7 separate regions of the Homo sapiens genome follow, and regions 1, 2, 3, 4, 5 and 6 are each linked to region 7. Evidence: promoter capture Hi-C in 16 types of primary human blood cells and fetal thymus (Javierre and others, 2016). All regions are on one chromosome and are shown on one strand. The core of a region is centred on a gene start or on the middle of the fragment in contact, and the rest is flanking DNA. Distances in the headings are between cores, read along the strand shown.

Evidence for each region. The method cuts DNA at HindIII sites, captures the fragments that hold promoters and counts their contacts. A CHiCAGO score of 5 or more calls a contact.
Region 1: a fragment that was not itself captured here is called in contact with the fragment with the promoter of TMEM68 in region 7 in 3 of 17 cell types (non-activated CD4 T cells, activated CD4 T cells and total CD8 T cells); the score reaches 10.6 in non-activated CD4 T cells.
Region 2: a fragment that was not itself captured here is called in contact with the fragment with the promoter of TMEM68 in region 7 in 3 of 17 cell types (total CD8 T cells, M2 macrophages and activated CD4 T cells); the score reaches 7.5 in total CD8 T cells.
Region 3: a contact is called between a fragment that was not itself captured here and the fragment with the promoter of TMEM68 in region 7, in 1 of 17 cell types (total CD8 T cells). The highest score is 5.4, in total CD8 T cells.
Region 4: a contact is called between the fragment with the promoter of TCEA1 here and the fragment with the promoter of TMEM68 in region 7, in 1 of 17 cell types (non-activated CD4 T cells). The highest score is 5.1, in non-activated CD4 T cells.
Region 5: a contact is called between a fragment that was not itself captured here and the fragment with the promoter of TMEM68 in region 7, in 3 of 17 cell types (total B cells, non-activated CD4 T cells and naive CD8 T cells). The highest score is 8.5, in total B cells.
Region 6: a fragment that was not itself captured here is called in contact with the fragment with the promoter of TMEM68 in region 7 in 1 of 17 cell types (naive B cells); the score reaches 5.6 in naive B cells.

The regions. Positions count from the first base shown.
Region 1 is chr8:54,097,309-54,100,008 of GRCh38, forward strand. All of the region lies in intron 2 of LYPLA1-TCEA1 (LYPLA1-TCEA1 readthrough), which reads right to left. All of the region lies in intron 2 of LYPLA1 (lysophospholipase 1), which reads right to left. Among named protein-coding and RNA genes, the nearest start is that of LYPLA1, 3.3 kb to the right of the region's middle. The HindIII fragment of the contact is 3,061 bases long and covers 1-2,700 here.
Region 2 is chr8:54,161,508-54,164,207 of GRCh38, forward strand. No RefSeq gene overlaps it. Among named protein-coding and RNA genes, the nearest start is that of MRPL15, 28 kb to the left of the region's middle. The HindIII fragment of the contact is 912 bases long and covers 826-1,737 here.
Region 3 is chr8:54,001,815-54,004,514 of GRCh38, forward strand. The region is part of intron 13 of LYPLA1-TCEA1 (LYPLA1-TCEA1 readthrough); the gene reads right to left. All of the region lies in intron 2 of TCEA1 (transcription elongation factor A1), which reads right to left. Among named protein-coding and RNA genes, the nearest start is that of TCEA1, 19 kb to the right of the region's middle. The HindIII fragment of the contact is 926 bases long and covers 974-1,899 here.
Region 4 is chr8:54,021,036-54,023,735 of GRCh38, forward strand. TCEA1 (transcription elongation factor A1) reads right to left here and starts at 1,413. Exons shown (of 10, transcript NM_006756.4): 1 at 1,028-1,413. The coding sequence starts at 1,090. All of the region lies in intron 12 of LYPLA1-TCEA1 (LYPLA1-TCEA1 readthrough), which reads right to left. It overlaps LOC133039971 (Uncharacterized LOC133039971), which reads left to right and starts at 998. Exons shown (of 3, transcript NR_189620.1): 1 at 998-1,347. RefSeq lists silencers at 862-1,031, 2,159-2,466 and enhancers at 1,152-1,945, 1,202-1,351, 1,946-2,700. The HindIII fragment of the contact is 35,827 bases long and covers 1-2,700 here.
Region 5 is chr8:56,993,655-56,996,354 of GRCh38, forward strand. It overlaps BPNT2 (3'(2'), 5'-bisphosphate nucleotidase 2), which reads right to left and starts at 213. Exons shown (of 5, transcript NM_017813.5): 1 at 1-213. RefSeq lists a silencer at 1-329. The HindIII fragment of the contact is 1,549 bases long and covers 571-2,119 here.
Region 6 is chr8:54,635,844-54,638,543 of GRCh38, forward strand. It overlaps a transcript of RP1 not described here. Among named protein-coding and RNA genes, the nearest start is that of RP1, 21 kb to the left of the region's middle. The HindIII fragment of the contact is 2,868 bases long and covers 1-2,685 here.
Region 7 is chr8:55,772,000-55,774,699 of GRCh38, forward strand. TMEM68 (transmembrane protein 68) reads right to left here and starts at 1,379. Exons shown (of 8, transcript NM_001286657.2): 1 at 1,270-1,379. It overlaps TGS1 (trimethylguanosine synthase 1), which reads left to right and starts at 1,447. Exons shown (of 13, transcript NM_024831.8): 1 at 1,447-1,720. The coding sequence starts at 1,620. RefSeq lists enhancers at 281-784, 1,556-1,885 and silencers at 1,006-1,135, 1,226-1,415. The HindIII fragment of the contact is 10,724 bases long and covers 1-2,700 here.

The DNA of each region.
Region 1 (2,700 bases), core at 68-2,567, 1.7 Mb before region 7:
AACTGAATCTAATCATGAGTAAATACACAAACCCAAATTAAAGGACTAGCCTGTTCTCTGCAGAAGTGTCAATGTCGTGAAAGACAAAAGAAAATCTAGGGAATTGTTCCAGATTAAAAGAGACAAAAGAGACTAAAGAGACGTGATAACTAAATATAATGTATGACTAGGGAGGAGATAGCTATAAAGGATATTAATGGAACAATCTGGCAAAGGTTGAATGCATAATATATTAGATAATACTAAATGTTAAATTTAATGGGATAACTTTTCTGTGATTATATAATGTTTAAAATACCCTAGTCCTTCTCACCCACAGTTTTGTTTTCCATGGTTTCAGCTGCCCACAGTCAACTGTGGTTCGAAAATATTACATGGAAAATTCCAGAAATAAACAGTGGGGGATGCTCTAAAACCCCTAGTGGATGCCTGAATCCATGGATAACACCAAACCCTATATATACTATGTTTTTTCCTATACATAATGCTTGTGATAAAGTTTATTGTGTAAATTAGACATAGGAAGAGATTAACAATAATAAAACAATTATAACAATATGACAACATCACTTCTCTTGCACTTTGGGGCCATCATTAAGCAATGTAAGGCTTATTTGGATAAAAGCACTACAGGCTGGGCGAGGTGGCTCATGCCTGTATTCCCAGCACTTTGGGAGGCCAAGGCGGGCAGATCGCTTGAGGTCAAGAGTTCCAGACTGGCCTGGCCAACATGATGAAACCCCGTCTCTACTAAAAATACAAAAATTAGCCGGGTGTGGTGGTGCACGCCTGTAGTCCCAGCTACTCAGGAGGCTGAGGCAGGAGAGTTGCTTGAACCTGGAGAGTGGAGGTTGCAGTGAGCCATGATTGTGTCACTGCATTCCAGCCTGGGTGACAGAGCAAGACTCTGTCTCAAAAAAAAAAGCAAAACAATACCAAAACAGTTGACCTGATAACCCAGATGGCTACCAAGTGACTAACAGATGGTGAATGGATATAGCATGGATACGCTAGGTAAAGGAATGATTCGTGTCCTGGGTGAGACGGAATGAGATTTCATCACAATACTCAGAATGGTGTACAATTCAGGCCAGGCATGGTGGCTCATGCCTGTAATCCCAGCACTGCGGGAGGCCGAGGTGGGTGGATCACTAGAGGTCAGGAGTTCAAGACCACCCTGGCCAACATGGCAAAACCCCATCTCTACTAAAAATACAAAAAAATTAGCTGGACGTGGTAGCACGCGCCTGTAATCTCAGCTACGCCGGAGGCCGAGGCACAAGAATCACTTGAACCCGAGTGGCAGAGGTTGAAGGGAGCCGAGATCGTGCCACTGCACTCCAGCCTGGGTGACAGAGTGAGACTCCATCTCAAAAAATAATAATAAAATAAATAAAAAAGAATGGTGTACAATTTTAAACTTATAAAGTATTTCTGGAATTTTTCATTTAGTATTTTCAAACCACAGTTAACCACGGGTAACTGAAACCATGGGAAGCAAAACTGCAGGTAAGGGGAGACTACAATATCTTAAGTATTAAATTGCCACTTGTCAGGCTGACAGGTTCGAAGTTTCATCATGCACTCATGGAACCAATCTAGAGTCAGCCTTTCCTTAGCATTATCCCACCAAATAATTTCAGAACTGGAGACCTTTGTTTTTTCTTTTATCACAACAGGTTAAAAAGAAGGATACTTTTTTAATATAAACTTAACTTTTGGTCAAGATGTAATGGATGTTCTTGGTATTTTTGATCCTAATAGTCTTCACCATTTTTACTTTTAGCTTCAGTCTGTGGAATCTGCCTAGACTGAAGTTTTTTTTTTTTTGCTTGAACTAATCATTCAGGCATAGAAGTGCTCATTATTGGCAAAGTTAGAGGATAGCAACCTTCTCCCTGACTTGCAACATCAAGAAAGGTTTGGCCATAAAATAGAGATTCTGCTATTCGAGTTTCATTTGGTAAAATAAGTTCATCATTTTCACAGGACCACTGGATTGCCAGAAAGAGTGCTGCAACCTTTTCTGTAACTCCATACAAAGTTTGTATTACATAACTCGACTTATTAGGCAAAAAATAGGAATCACTTTTAAGTGGTGGCTCACGCCTGTAATCCCAGCACTTTGGGAGGCTCAGGTGGGTGGATCATTTGAGGTCAGGAGTTCGAGACCAGCGTAACCAACATGGCAAAACTCTGTCTCTACTAAAAATACAAAAATTAGCTGGCATGGTGGCAAGCAACTGTAGTCCCAGCTACTCGGGAGACCCAGGAACCCAGAAGGTGGAGGTTGCAGTGAGTCAAGATCACGCCACTGCCCTCCAGCCAGGGCAACACAGCAGACCCTGTCTCCAAACAAACAAACAAAAATCTAGCCTAATGGCATTTTTTTTTTTTTTGAGTCTCACTCTGTGGCCCAGGCTGGAGTGCAGTCGTGCAATCTTGGCTCACTGAAGCCTCTGCCTCCCAGGTTCAAGTGATTCTCTTCTCTCAGCCTCCCTAGCAGCTGGGATTACAGGCATGCACCACCACACCCGGGTAATTTTTATATTTTTAGTAGAGATGGGGTTTCACCATATTGGCCAAGCTGGTGTCGAACTCTTGACATCAAGTGAACTACCCACCTCGGCCTCCCAAAGTGCTGGGATTACAGGTGTGAGCCACCGCGCCCGGCCCCAATGGTTCATTTTAAAGAAAATT
Region 2 (2,700 bases), core at 32-2,531, 1.6 Mb before region 7:
GGGAACCCACCTCTTGCATCAGCGTGACCTGGATGCGAGACCTGGAGTCAAAGGAGATCATTTTGGAGCTTTAAAATGTGACTGCCCTGCTGGATTTCAGACTTGCATGGGCCCTGTAACCCCTTTGTTTTGGCCCATTTCTCCCATTTGGAATGGCTGTATTTACCCAATACCTGTACCCCCATTGTATCTAGGAAGTAACTAGCTTGCTTCTGATTTTACAGGCTCATAGGCGGAAGGGACTTGCCTTGTCTCAGATGAGACTTTGGGCTGTGGACTTTCGGGTTAATGCTGAAATAAGACTTTGGGGGACTGTTGGGAAGGTATGATTGGTTTTGAAATGTGAGGACATAAGATTTGGAGGGGCCAAGGGTGGAATGATATGGTTTGGCGGTGTCCCCACCAAAATCTCAATTTGAATTGTATCTCCCAGAATTCCCACGTATTGTGGGAGGGCACCAGAGGGAGGTAATTGAATCATGGGGGCCGGTCTTTCCCATGCTATTCTCGTGGTGGTGAATAAGTCTCACAAGATCTGACGGGTTTATCAGGGGTTTCCGCTTTTGCTTCTTCCTCATTTTTCTCTTGCCCCTTGCCACGCAAGAAGTGCCTTTTGCCTCCCACCATAATTCTGAGGCCTCCCCAACCATGTGGAACTGTAAGTCCAATTAAACCTCTTTTTCTTCCCAGTCTCAGGTATGTCTTTATCAGCAGTGTGAAAACGGACTAATACACATGGTAATTCCATGTTTAACTTTTTGAGGAACAGCCAAACTGTTCTCCACAGTGGCTGCACCATTTTACATTCCTGCCAGCCGCTCATGAAGCTTCCAATTTTTCCATATCTTTGCCAAGATTTATTATTGTCTGTCTTTTTGATTGTAGCCTTTCTAGTGGGTGTGGAGTGGTATTTCATTGTGGTTTTGATTTGCATTTCCCTAGTAATTAACGGTATTGATAATCACTTTCATGAACTTATTTGCCACTTGTATGTTTTCTTTGGATAAATGTCTTTTCCGGTCCTTTGCCTATTTTAAAATGGTACCATTTGTCTTTTTATTGAATTATAATAATATTTATGTATTCTGGATACTAGATCCTTATTATATATATTATTTGCAAATATTTTCTCTCATTCTGTGTATTGTCTTTTCACTTTCTTGACAGTGTCTTTTAATAAACAAAAGTTTTTAATTTCAATGAAGTCTAAATTATCTATTTTTTCTTTTTTTTTTTTGCCTGTGGTTTTGTTGTCACATCTAAGTTATGATTACCTAATGCTAAGTCATGCAGATTTACTCCTAGGTCTTAAAATTCTCTGTTTTCTAGCTTTAGCTTTTCATTTGAGCATTTAATACTTTTGAGTTAATGTTTGTATGTGATGTGAGGCAAGAGTCCAACTTTATTCTTTTGCATGTGGTATCAAGTTGTCCCAGCAACATTTACTGAAAAGAAATATTCTGTTCCCATTGAATTGTCTTGTATCTTTGTAGAAAATCAGTTGGCCATAAGTGCCATTGAGCTATATATGTCTAACTTTATACACTTGATACATAAAGTCTTATACAGTCTTGATTACTGTAGTTTTGTAGTAAGTTTTGAAAATAAGAAATCCTAGCCTTATTCTTCTTTTTCAAGATGGTTTTGACTCCTCTGGGCCCCTTGAATTTCCATACAAATTTGAGAATCACCTTGCCAATTTCTGCAAAAATGGCAGCTTGCATTTTGATAAATGCAAGCTTTAAATTTGTAGATCAATTCAGAGAATATGGCTATTTTAACAATACTAAGTCTTCTAGCCAGACATGGTGGCTCACTTCTGTAATTCCAGCACTTTGGGAGACCAAAGTGGGAGGATCACTTAAGCCCAGGGGTTTGGGACCAGCCTAGGCAACATAGTGAAACTCCATCTTTACAAAAAAGTAAAAAATAAAAAATTAGCTGGTGGAACATGCCTATAGTCTCAGGTACCTGAGGGACAGGCAGAGGCTAAGGTGAATCCCTTGAGCCCTGGAGGTTGAGGCTGCAGTGAGCCATGATTGTGCCACTGTACTCCACCTTGAGTGACAAAGTGAGACCATGTCTCAAAAAAAAAAGTCGTCTAATCCATGAACATGGGCTATCTCTTATCAGTATGTGTTTTTGTCTTTTATTCTATTAATTTGGTGTATTACATTGATAGATTTTCAGATATTAAACCAACCTTGTATACCTGGGATAAATTCCACTTGGTCATAGTATATAATCCTCTTTTATATGTTGCTGAATTTGGATTGCTTGTATTTTGTTGAGTTTTGCATGTATCATTTAAAATATATTTGTAGTTTTTTGTGATGTCTTTGGTATCAGTGTTATACTAGGCAAATAGAATGATTTCGAAGTGTTTCCTCCTCTTTTTTTTTTTGAAGAATTTTTGAAGAATTGGCATTAATTCTTTAAATATTTGGTAGAATTCACCAGTGAAGTCATCTGACCCTGGGCTATTCTTTGTGGGAAGTTTTTGATTAATAATTCTCTTGTTATACATCTTTTCAGATTTTCTATTCTTTTTTATTTCTCTTTTTTTCTGTGATTTTCTACTCTTCTTGAGTCTGTTTTTGTAGTTTGTGTCTGTCAAGTAATTTATCCATTTCAACTAGGTTATCTAATTGGTTGGCACACAATTTTTCACAGTGTTCTCTTTATTTTTATTATTTTATT
Region 3 (2,700 bases), core at 187-2,686, 1.8 Mb before region 7:
AACATGCTTATCTATGGAAGAGATTGTCAAGCCAAAATAATAAGAAATGAGGGGCACGGTGGCTCACACCTGTAATCCCAGCACTTTGGGAGGCTGAGGCGGGCGGCTCACGAAGTCAGGAGTTTGAGACCAGCCTGGCCAATATAGTAAAACTGTCTCTACTAAAAAAAAAAAACAAAAAACAAACAAACAAACAAAAAACAAATTAGCTGGGCGTGGTGGCAAGCGCCTGTAGTCCCAGCTACTCGGGAGGCTGAGACAGAAGAATCACTTGAACCCAGAAGGCAGAAGTTGCAGCGAGCCACGATCACACCACTGCGCTCCAGCTTCCAGCCTGGGCGACAGAGCAAGACTGTCTCCAAAAAGAAAAAAAAAGGGCGGGTATGGTGGCTCACGCCTGTAATCCCAGCACTCTGGGAGGCCGAGGTGGGTGGATCACGAGGTCGGGAGATTAAGACCATCCTGGCTGACACGGTGAAACCCCATCTTTAAAAAGTACAAAAAATTAGCTGGGCATGGTGGCACGCACCTGTAGTCCCAGCTACTTGGGAGACTAAGGCAGGAGAATTGCTTGAACCCGGGAGGTAGAGGTTGCAGTGAGCCGAGATTGCACCACTGCACTCCAGCCTGGGTAACAGAACAAGACTCCGTCTCAAAAAAAAAAAGAAAAAAAAGAAATGAAGCTGCTGAGGTAGAATGAAAAACAAAGATTTGAAATAAGTTTTTCTTTTTTCCTTTGGGGGTACCATGGAAAAAATGAAAAAAAAAAAAAGTAGAGGAAAAGATTATGAAGCTATTTACTTGGATAAGCAAGTCTGAAGTTGACTCTATGAATTCCCTAGAGATTTTTCCTAAAATTGGTATGCTAAGACTTACAAGATGTAATAGATAGGTTATACGAAAGTATTCTGTGCTCAAGTGACCTTAGGAATTGTGGGATTATAACTGTTTTCTTGACTGCAGGACTAATGAAAGCTTTCAGGACAAACTATACATCGTGAAACTCTAGCAGATAAAATATGTGCCTTTGCCTATGATTTCTATAGAACATCAGGTATACAGAAAGAAAGACATTACCTTGGAAAGGTGGAGAGTGCATTAAGCAGCCTTAGGGGTCAGCTGCACACTGATGGAAAAGCAGAAAGGAATGAGTACTGAGATCAAGAGACACTGTTAACATCACAGGAAACAAGCAGATTTGGTGTGCTCCAGAAGAAAAGTCTCCTTTGTGATCACTCATGAGTTTTTGCCAAGATGATCTCAAGGTAGCCACTAAATCTTAAGGTAAAAAACATATAGCTACTGTACAGCTACTATAAAACACATATGTAAAACATACATTTAAAACACACATATATAAAAGAAACACACAGCTACTATAAAACATTTTTGAAAGAAATTAAAGATGACCCAAACAAAATTTTTAAATCTCATGTCGATAGACCGGAAGACTTAAATGTTAAGACTGCAATACTAATCAAGTCGAACTACTGACTCAATGCAATGCCTATCAGAATCCCATCTGCCTTTAGTGTAGAAATTGACAAGCGTACCCTAAAGTCCATACAGAAATGCAAAGGACCCAAAACAGCCAAAACAATCTTGAAAAAGAAGAACAAAGTTGGAGCACTCACAATTCCCTATAGTAACCAAGATAGCATAGTACTGGCAAAAGGATGGACGCGCAGATCAATGGGATAAATTTAAGACTCCAGAAATAAATTCCTACATTTTTCATCAACTGATTTTAGATAAGGATATCAAGACAATTCATTGGAGAAAAGAATATTCTTTTTAACAAATGGTGCTGGAACAACTAGACATCCACATGTAAAAGAATAAACCTGAACCTCTTCCTTATACCACACATAAAAATTAACTCAATATGAACAGGAGTAAAGCTTCATGACCTTGGATTAGGGAATGGTTTCTTGGATATGACACCTAAGGCGCAAGCAATCAAAGAAAAAATAGAATATATCAAAATTTAAAACTTTTGTGCTTCAATGAACACCATCGAGAAAGCAAAAAGATAATTCACAGAAAAAGAGACAATATTTGCAAACTCTATGTCTGATAAGCGACTTGTATTTGGAATATATAAAGAACTATTACAACTCGATTAAAAAAAAAAAGACAATCCAATTTAAAAACGGGCAAAGGATCTGGATAGACATTTCTCCGAATAAGATATAAAAATAACCAACAAGCACATGAAAAGATATTCAACATCCTTAGACATTATGGAAATAAAAATTAAAGCTACAATGAAATACCACTACACCCACTACAATAGCTATAATCAAAAACAAACAACAACAAGTGTTTGCAAGGATGCAGAGAAACTGGACCCCTCGTTTACTGCTACTAGGGATATAAAATGGTATGGTGGCTGGAGAAAAGAGTCTGGCAGGTCCTCAAAATGTTAAACACACAGTTACCACATAAACCAGCAATACCATTCCCAGGTATCTACACAAGAACAACAAAAACATATGCTCACACAAACTTGTATATAAACACGCATAGCAGTGTGATACATAACAGCCAAAAAAGTCTAAACGCATCACCTGACAAATGGATAAACAACATGTGAAATATCCATGCAACTGAATATTATTCAGCCATAAAAAGGCCTGAAAATTCTGACATAAACTGCAACATGGATGAATCCTGAAAACATTAAGCTAAGTGACAGAA
Region 4 (2,700 bases), core at 163-2,662, 1.8 Mb before region 7:
AAAAATAGCCAGGCGTGGTGGCGCACGTCTGTAATCCCAGCTACTCGGGAGGCTGAGGCAGGAGAATCACTTGAACCCGAGAGGCGGAGGTTGCAGTGAGCCGAGATCAAGCCATTGCACTCCAGCTTGTGCAACAAGAGTTAAACTCCGTCTCGAAAAAATATGTTTAGCTAAGAACAGATGAGTCTGAAGCAAGGGACTGAAAGTGCCACACAAATGGGCAAGCTGTAGAAACTGGTCGTATGAGGATTTCTTACAAACCACAAAAGCATATGCTTACATGAATATTCATCAATAACAAAAAAAATGCCACCAGTATTAACTGTAAACCACTTAGAAAATACCCAACAATATAATTTGTCCAAATCCCTCTACCAGCATTCCGGTGAGTGTGCGTGCTGTAGTCCTAACTCTTCTGTACATTACGACAGGACAAAACCCGCTTTTTATAAAACGTTTAGCAACTCGCCAAGAAACTGGCACACTTTACCTTTTTAATCGCTAAGCAAACATGTAGCACAGTTGAGATAACCAGGCGGACGTTCAGCCCTCTTCAAAAATAAGACACAGAAGTTTTACATTTTACCAGCCCGATGTCTAATACCGATCACAAGCCTCTATTTGATGCTCTTTCTAGATGTTGGCCACGGATCACGGAAGACTCCATTCTTTCAAGTTCTGAGGACTTTCTACGCTTCAATTCCTAAGCTAAATTGCCAAGGTTTTACTAGCACGAAAGTTTAAAGTCAACGGAGAGCGTGCCCTAATCCCTAAATCGATTAGGTTTATTACACGGCACCAGCGAGCAGGGACTGGAAATACAAGAGCGAGCGGGTCCTAACGCAGGTTGCCGCGGGACCCGACGCCCCGGGCCCGGACACCCTCCCCGGGGACGCGGGCGCGGCGGGCCCGGCTCCCAGACGGGAGGCTGCAGGGGGAGGGGAGGGAGAAGGAGGGAGGGGGCGGCCCCCTCGGGCCGGACCGCGGCCCGGCCTCCCTCCCGGCCCGCGCCGCTCGCCGCGCTCACCGCGTTCTTCTTCTGCACCATCTTGTCCATCTTCTTGGCAAAGCGGACCACTTCGTCCTCCATGGCTCCGGCAGGTCTTCTCCGCGCCCACCCCGCTGGCAAGGGGAAGTGGGCGAAGCTGGAGCGGAAGACACAGCAGGAGCGACCCCCGGCGCGCAGCAACCCCCACCACCGCAGGCCCGGGCCTAGGCCCCCTTCCTTACGAACGAAGCCCGCGGCGGCGGCGGCGGCGGCGGCGGCTCCGGCTCCTCCTCCCCAGGCAGCGACAATCGAACACCGCGCGCGACGTGCAGGCGCTACCAACTGACTGCAGATCGCTGGTGAGGGGCGAGCCCATGTTCCCGCCAGGCGGGCGTCGGGCTAGTGGGCAGGCGTGGCTTCCGGCTAGAGGGTCGTGGAAGGCGCCCGGTTTTGCTGCGCGTTCACCTCCGGTCCCGCCCCCTCACGGGGCGGGTTTTCGGCCCCCTATTGCATCGGGACATCCCGGAGTTTTAGAACTCGCGGAGGCCCAAGTATCTCGAAACGGGGGCAGATTCCGAGCATGGAACTTTGGCAGGTTTTAAAGTCTGTGGGAAGCCAAGCACTTTCTCCATAGGAGACTGCTACGGGGAAAAATGGAACCCGTGTCCTCTAAGTTAGGTTACGGAGTTACTCGTTTTAAGAGTTCCTTTTTTTTTGAGACGGAGCCTCGTTCTGTCGCCTGGCTGGAGTACAGTGGCGCGATCTCCACTCACTGCAAGCTCCCCCCCCCGGGTTCAAGCGATTCTCCTGCTTTAGTTTCCCGAGTAGCTGGGACTACAGGCGCCCGCCACCACGCCCTGCTAATTTTTTGTATTTTTAGTAGAGACAGGGTTTCACCATGTTGGCCAGGATGGTTTTGATCTCTTGACCTAGTGATCCGCCCGCCTCGGCCTCCCAAAGTGCTGCGATTACAGACCTGAGCCACTGCACCCGGCTAAGCGTTCCTTTTTTTAAAAAAAATCGGCCGGGCGCGGTGGCTCATGCCTGTAATCCCAGCACTTTGGGAGGCCGAGGCGGGCGGATCAACTGAGGTGAGGAGTTCGAGACCAGCCTGACCAACATGGAGAAACATCGTCACTACTAAAAATACAAAATTAGCCGGGCGTCATGGCCTGTGATCCCAGCCACTCGGGAGGCTGAGGCAGGAGAATCGTTTGAACCCGGGAGGCGGAAGTTGCGGTGAGCCGAGACTGCCATTGCATTCTAGCCTGGGCGACAAGAGCGAAACTCCGTCTCAAAAAAAATAAAAAATAAATAAAGGTGAAATCGTTCGTGAGCTCCTGGAGTACTAAGAACCAGTCTTGGGCATGGCATTTTGAATAGTTGAAGAACAGTTGACGGAAACCTTCTGGTCAGAAATTACACAAGGCATCCCACCAGCTTCTGAGGATCAGAGAGGAAGGTGACTTAAGTTGTGACAGGGTTCATAGTGGAGAATGCAGGCTCCTCCAAAAAGTCTTTCCCCACTTAAACCCTTCACGACCAACTCATGCTATTTGCAGGTATAACTCCCACACCACGTAACTATCATTCATCAAAATACACCGCCTAATAATGTTCTTTCTATACTGAGATGACAGGTTTTTCCTGGTTATGACTCACTCATTTGGGGGAGAAGTATTGGGATCGTTTCCCTATTTTGTTTCATTTTT
Region 5 (2,700 bases), core at 95-2,594, 1.2 Mb after region 7:
CAGCCGCCGCGCTCCGGGCCAGGCGCCGCGCGGGCTACACTGGCGCCCGCTCCCCGGCCCCGGTGCGCCCCATCACTCCCTCCCAGGAAAGGCCGAGTTGCGCCGCGAAGACCACCAACGCCGCCCCGCGCGCCTGACTCGCCAGGCAGCGCGCTCTAGGTTCTTCCGCCGGCCGGCTGGTCCGACTTCCACGTTAGCCTACGGCCGCGAGGTGAAAGGGGAGCGTGGGTGTGTATCCGGGTTACGCGACGGGGCGGGGCGAGGGCGAGGGCGAGGGGCGGGGAGAGCTGGGCACCTCCCCTTGGGGCGGGGCGGGGCGGGACAGGAGGCGCTGGACTGAGCTGCCTTCCTTGGTCTGGGTGGGAAGGTATTCCTGGAAGTGGCGAGCAGCAATCCGCACAGGACAGTGTGCTGTGCTGAGTGCCTTGTGGGTGTTTAAATTAAATATCCCATTGTACGACTATGGCTGGCTGTAATAAACCCACAGTAACAGTCTAGTCTTCTCATCACTCTCAGATTATTGAGGAATGGAGGAAAACACAATAAACCATTTTAAAAGATTGATTTGCAAGCTTTTTTAGCCAGCGGGGGTGTAGACAGCCTGTACCTTTAAGTCGCTTCTCCGCGCTCTTCCCGGCAGGACGGGGAACTGGGCGGTGAGGGGAAGAATTGTACTTGGCTCTTCATTCTGTTGACATCTTTGTCGTGCCCTAAATGCTTATGTGTGTATAGAGTTTCTCTCCTCCACCTGCCAGAATAAACCATCCTCGAAGCAGCTGAAAAACATGCCTTGATCCGGGTTTTTCATAATGAAAGAAAGCAAACCAGGCTTCTCTCATTTCCAAGGGTACTCGAGCCTGGCTCTCCTACCAGAGCTTAAGAAGAGGAATTGCTTGACAGAGTCCACTTAAAATAGAGGTTATCCGGAGATGGTCAGTCTAGAACATGTAATCTTTGAGTCAGCGTAGGCTCTCGAAGTATTTTGACAGAAATAACTACCTTCTACTATAACACCGATCTTAGCTAGAATGATAGTGAATACTTTATAAGTATTCATGAGTTTATCTTTAATCTTAAAAGTGAATATTAAGATGTATAGTATTGTTCTTAAATGTTAAAATATCTATATAAATCAACTTAAAATGTAGCCTGTTTTACTGTTCATAGCAAAACAGCATTGGTTTTAAGTGGACTTTAGAATTAACCACCTGAAAAACTGCAAGTATACCAAACTTCTAAACATCCATTGCTAAGCAAGTCATGTAGAGCCTGACCTTTACCGCTTACTTAGAGTTCAGGGCATCCCTAGAATTTGCATGTGATTATACACATACAACAAAAGCACTGCCAGATTATACACATACAACAAAAGCACTGTGATTTCCCTGCCAGAATCACAGCACAAAATCAAGTACAAATACAAATCAGTGAAAGAACAATCCCTAGAGTATTGACAGCACCAGAACTTAAAGAACTAGCATTGCCTTTCTTGTCAGCTTTTGAGAGTAACTTTGCAATGAAGCAAAGCTGCTTTCAAATATCTAAAAGTGAATGTCACAGAGTAATTCTCAAAACCCATCCCAGGGATAAAGATAAACATCAGGGTTGAAATATAAAGGTTTAAGTTAAACAGAACCACCCCAACCTACACTATGACAGCAGCAAAAAGATGAGTTGGATAGTAATCATGTCAATATTAAAAGCATCATTGGGAAGTCTGAGATTTCTCAAAATAAACGGAATAATATTTTCCAAGGATATTGGAGAATAATATAGGGTCACATTCAGTGTGGCAGTATACACAGTATACCACTGAGGGAAATACTAAAAGCTCTGGAGCATTTCTACTGCAAAAAAGGGATTTAAGACTTGAGGGAGAAAATGCCAAGGTATGTGGAAAGAAGGAGTCACTTGAAAGATTGTAGCTCCAAGAGGCGTTCTAGCACTCAAGTGATAATTGATCATAGAGAATGGGTATTAACAGATAACATTTAATCGACAAAAGAAGTTATGACAATAAGAAAACATTTGATTAATTACATGTGGTACAGTGATGTCAGAAAACCTTTATAGGAATTTGATTGAAAGAAACTTGTTTTTTTAGTATCAAGTTGTCAGAAGCTTCAAACAATGCATACATACACATGAAAATTATATGGCTTTCATATTAAGATTGTGGACAGTCTGTTCCTAAAACATAATCTACATCTATTCTTAAAATTGTTTTCCCCAAGATTTTGAAATAAACAATTAAATGTGTTAACTTTTAGGCCGGGCGCGGTGGCTCATGCCTGTAATCCCAGCACTTTGGGAGGCCGAGGTGAGTGGATCACGAGGTCAGGAGATCGAGACCATCCTGGCTAACACGGTGAAACCCCGTCTGTACTAAAAATACAAAAAAATTAGCCGGGTGTGGCGGCGGGCGCGTGTAGTCCCAGCTACTCGGGAGGCTGAGGCGAGAAATGGCATGAAACCGGGAGGCGGAGCTTGCAGTGAACCGAGATCGCGCCACCGCACTCCAGCCTGGGCGACAGAGTGAGACTCCGACTCCGTCTCAAAAAAAAAAAAAAAAAAAAAAAGAAACAAAAAAGAAAAAAAAAGGAAATGTGTTAACTTTTTAAATTAAAGCAAAATAATTATGTAGGCTGATGCAAGTAAGACAACTTGAAACTGCAACTAGAAACTATACCCAATGAAAAA
Region 6 (2,700 bases), core at 2-2,501, 1.1 Mb before region 7:
TCTACAACCCCCACAAGAAAGCCTAAGGGATAATGTCCACAGAGCTTAATAAAGGCATACACAGTCCCAGAGATTTCCCCGTCCCTCTCTCCCAAAAGTTCTGTCTCACAACCTCCCTCCTTCCCTTTCTCCCTCTTCCTCTCCTCCCCACTGACCCCTTGCTGATTGAGCTCCCTGCTGCCTCTTTCTGTTGGCACCCCTAACCTTTCTGGGAACTGTGAATAATAAACACTTATGTTTTGCGCATTTCCATTTCACTTCATTGTGTCTCATTTGGCATAGATGCTCTTAACGTAGCCTTCTTTTTGGTCAGAGCTATCTTAGAGAGTGGCTGTCTTGACAGGAATAATCTGGATACAGGTCAGGCAAGACCCACAAGGGTGTCTGCCTGAAAAAACAGTTTGTTGTGAGAGGGACACCTAGTCATGGGTCAGACACTTAGGCAATAGGCATCCTTCAGGATAAAGAGGCATCCCATGGAAGGCGCACTGTCAACATCCACAACAAAATCCTTTGAATTTCTGGCAAGGGCAAGGCTGGAGCTTATGGCCACTCTCAAGAAAAACCTCAAGACCAAATTAGAAAGAAACCATCATAAAAATCACAACAGTTGGCTGTGCATGGTGGCTCACGCCTGTAATCCCAGCACTTTGGGAGGCCAAGGCAGGTGGATCACCTGAGGTCAGGAGTTCAAGACCAGCCTGGCCAACATGGTGAAACCCGTTCTTTACTAAAAATATAAAAATTAGCTGGGCCTGGTCGTGGGCGCCTGTAATCCTAGCTACTCGGGAGGCTGAGGCAGGAGAGTCTCTTGAACCCGGTAGGTGGAGGTAGCAGTGAGCTGAGATTACGCCACTGTACCCCAGCCTGGGCGGCAAGAGCAAAACTCCCTCTCAAAAAACAAAAACAAAAAACACACTTGCATACATATGTATCCCATTTATTCTCATGGATGTGGTATAGAGAATCCAAAAGAATAATTTCATGTCATTTAAATGACATTGGAGTTTGTTTTAGACATATATTTCAATATAGGTCTGTTAGTGGAAATTCTCAGTCAAAAAGACATTATATGAAGAATAACTAGGACCAAGAGAAAGTTCTCTAGATTTGTTATTTTATGCCTTTGCTTACTTTCTCCCTGTTCACCTATTAGTTTGCACCAGTCTGCACAATGGGCTCTGTCCTGTCACCCTTCCAGGAGGCATGGTGTAGCATAGCATTATGGAGATTGTCTGGTGCTCTTCCTTCAGCAGGTTGATGTTGAGGTTAGCCTTGTATGCCCTGTTCGGTATCCTGCTAGGAACTTGTGGACCTCATCTGGATCAACAGATAGAGTCTCATGAAATATCTGGTTGTCATGAAATGTCAAAGTATGTAGAGTGCTATGTAATAGCTCGATAGGACTGATTGAACTCCTGGGTGGTCCTGAGTGGGTTAGGAAAGGGGTCCACAGTGAGTGCCTAGCTGGACAAGTCTCTGCATACAGCTGACCACCTAGGCATTAAGAGCCAGAACCACACAGTAGACCTGCACTGGCAGGCTATCCAGCATAGAAGTTTTACTTTTTCAATGGTGAACTCTTCCATTTGCATTTTTATTTCTTATCAAAGTTATACATTTATAACTAGTTTTAATCAGAAGTGCATAGCTCAAAATAAAAAATAGACCACTTTCTGACCCTGTACATGCCTAATTCCCACTCCAGAGGCATCTTTCTTGAAAATATTTAGCTGTTTTTCTGCTGTTTATTTCTGTATTTAGAGACATACTGCTTTTTTTTTCAATTTTAGATTTTGTGTATTGACATTTCACCTTCAGCCTCCCACTTCATATCTCTGCCAATATAATTTTTTTTATTAAATTACAGGGCTTTCATTAATAACCATGTAAATATGTAAATATTTTCCTCAGCTGAGCCTTTTAGTGTATCCTGACTACATTTTCTTTTTTGAACTATTTTTTGTTTTCCTTGGATTAAAAATGGACTACCATTTATTACTGAACTCTTCCCCAGGGCTGACTCTGTCAGCATAAAAGTGCACATCTATTCTATTTTTTTCCCTTGGGGACATTATTTTTCTTGAAGGCATTCCTTGGGGAAGTCCCTTCCCAACTCCTCTACCCAGCTCCCTCCTCATCCGACGTGAACTGCTTCAATCCAGGTCAGCTGTGCAGTTGTCATCCTGAGCTATCCCTCAGCAACATCCTGGGAATCTCCTTTTCCTCTCTATATTGAATGTCTTGTTTATTGAAATCTTAGTTTAGGCCTCAGTTTAGGTGGAGAAAATTCTCTTATAGTTTATAATAAGGGGTGCATGGGAGTTCTTTTTTGATTCTTGAATGTATGAAAATATCTTTTGGCAGGTGGATTGCCTGAGCTTGTGAGTTCGAGACGAGCCTCGGCAACACAGTGAAACCCTGTCTCTACTAAAATACAAAAGATTAGCCAGGCATGGTGTTGTGCACCTGTAATCTCAGCTACTTGGGAGGCTGAGACAGGAGAATCACTTGAACCCAGGAGGTGGAGGTTGCAGTGAGCCGAGATCGCGCCACTGCACTCCAGCCTGGGCGACAGAGTGAGACTCCATCTCAAAAAAAAAAAAAAAACATACCGTTATTCTCATGTTTAATGGATAAAAATTATATGGCCTTATACATTAGAAGTAACTCAAACATTTTAAAAGCTTTAAAAATTTG
Region 7 (2,700 bases), core at 129-2,628:
CTAAAATCTTCCACTCTGTTTCATAATTACTGTTCTACCCTTATTATCGTAACCCAGCTACTCATCCCAATAATGCTGCACATCTATACTGGTATATCTGTAACCGTGCAGCACTCTTACCTTCTTGAACCAACAAAATCAGCCTATCTCCGACCTCAAAGTAGGGCAGCAGTAAGGAGGTGGGAATAAACATTTGAAAATGAATATTTCCACTAACTAGTAAATGTGGCCAAAATACTATTGAAAATACCATTCAAAATGCATGAATTTTAGCTCAGTTTTTATATAGTTCTGAAGAAGTACCAATACTATTTTGGCATTTCGTAGCACCAACCACGTCCGAAGCGCTCCAACTTTCAAGTCTGAGCTTGTCTCTGAAGAAGTTGCCCGTGCAGCCTCCATGAATACCACACACCAAATACTAACTGCTTTTTAACAGATCCAGCAACGCTGCTGTTTCCATTTTCTCCATCCTATTTATGCCCACATGAACTTTTTTCTTATTAGATAATTAGTAACTTGAAGGCAGAGACCTGTTTTACAGGCTGCAAACCCCAGGGACCGAGACAGCACTTAACGCCTACAAGGTCCAAACCGACGCCAACGATTAAGCGCACAAAGGAAAGGTGTAATATACATCATTTCGTTTAGTCCTCCCTGCAGCCTCATGTAGTAGTTACTATTAATCAACCCCATTTCACAGGTGATCAAAGGTAAGCTCAGAAAGGTGAAGTTGCCTGCCCAGGTCACAAGGTAGGACCAGGATTCCAAGCCTGATCGGTCTGGATACGAACGCTCTACCCACGCGGCTTTCCCCCTACACTCTCGGGATCACCACACACTTCCCCTTGGCTTTTACACCGGAGGCTCGACCTGGGTCCCGGAACCAGCGAAGCCACTGGGCAAGCCTAGAGGCCTCTACAGAGGCTAGAGACGCCTCGCCCCACCAGATGCATTAGGATGAAACGCGCCGAACCGAAGGTTTAGAGCGCCAGGGGAGAAGAGGGGCGGGGAGAGCAGGCTCTTTGACCCAGAGGAGGGAGGATCTCCACACCCGGCCACTCTGGCGCTGGGGCGCAACACTGAGGCCGGCGGGAAGCCGAGCCTGCCCGCGAAGAGACTGGGGATTCCGAGGCGGCTCCTGGGAGACCGGACGCGCGCGGCCTCCGCCGCTCCCAGTCCCGCCAGACCCGATGCCGGGCTGGAGAAGCGCGGGGGCCGACGCACCTCGGATAGGCGGGGGCAGGGGCAGGGGCAGCTCTCCTTTACCCTAGAGCGGCGACAGAAGCTCTTCGGGGGATCAGTGGCCAAGGGGGCGGACAGATTTGCACGGCGGATTCCTCCGAAGCAACCCGTGTGAAAGAAGCCAAGCGGCGGCTGCAGCCCGGGCCGCGATGGGGGTGACACCGCCCGTGGTCCCGCCCCTTCCCGTGGCCCCTCGGAGCCACTTCCGGCGGCAGCGTCCGGGCTAGTTCCCGGCGCGAGCGGCCGCGGGCCAGTTTCTATCTCCTCATCCAGGGCTTGCGGGCGAGGCCTGTTTTAAGTCTCCAGTAACCGAGCGGAGGCCCGGCAGGCGCGACCCGGGCTGCGTACGTCAGAGCTGCCTCCGAAGTGGTAAAATGTGCTGCGAGAAGTGGAGCCGCGTGGCGGAAATGTTTCTCTTCATTGAGGAGCGGGAGGATTGTAAGATACTGTGCCTTTGCTCCAGGGCATTTGTGGAGTAAGTAGAAAAGAGAATCTCTTCATGTTCTAGCACAGTCATTACCCAGAAATGTAGGTATTGCAAACGTGGTTGTAATTGATCCCTGAAAGCAGCCAGAACATCTGACCCTTGGGCACGGTGATGTTTAAGAAAAACAAAACCCTCAGACATGACGGAGTGGTCGCCCACTGCCATTATTTTTATGTGAAGGACTACATCTACTTGGTAGGCTGCTATGAAAAAATGTCGTAGGTGCTATATGTCATCTCATATTTGTAAATCGAGGGGACATTTAAAAATTGGGGGAAAGCGACATGTAAAATGAAATCTCTAGTAGATATGATGTCATAAAGTGAAAGTTTAAAGTTGAGTGACTTGCTTTGGTTAACGTCTTTTTTTAAACCTAAAAATCTACTTAAGCCCAAATGCACATAATTAAAACTTCAAACTAGTTGAGATAAAAGACTTAACCATATTTACATCAGTTTTTGTGATATCTTTATTTTGGGGAAATCTTTGAATCAGGTAAAAATTGCCCCACATGAAAAATAGCTAGTATGCAGGAATAATACCGCCAAGAGACTTGAATTCTAGGAATTGTTTCCTTTATATTAAATGCGTGAGTTAAACCACTTGAACCTTTTTTTCATCTCTATAACGGGTATATTTAATCTCACATGCTTATTTTGTTAGAGTTAAATCCTTGTGGAAGTGAATTTTATGTGATAGACTTTTAATATAGTTTAATATAGTAGGATTTAAGTTTGAAGGAATTCATTTTTCTCGTGTAATTTTGTGGAGTAATTTGAAAACGCAAAAAGAAGTTAAACTTGTTAAATTTAATGTAAAAAGTATTGTCGCCTTTTTAGTCAGGCATGCATGTAGTCATACAATCATTCAGAAAATGTTTTTTGTGCTCTTGTATATCAAGTATGCTGGTAGGCACTGAGGTACAAGACATTCTGTCCTTACATGTATTGAGTTTACTTCCTAGCAGA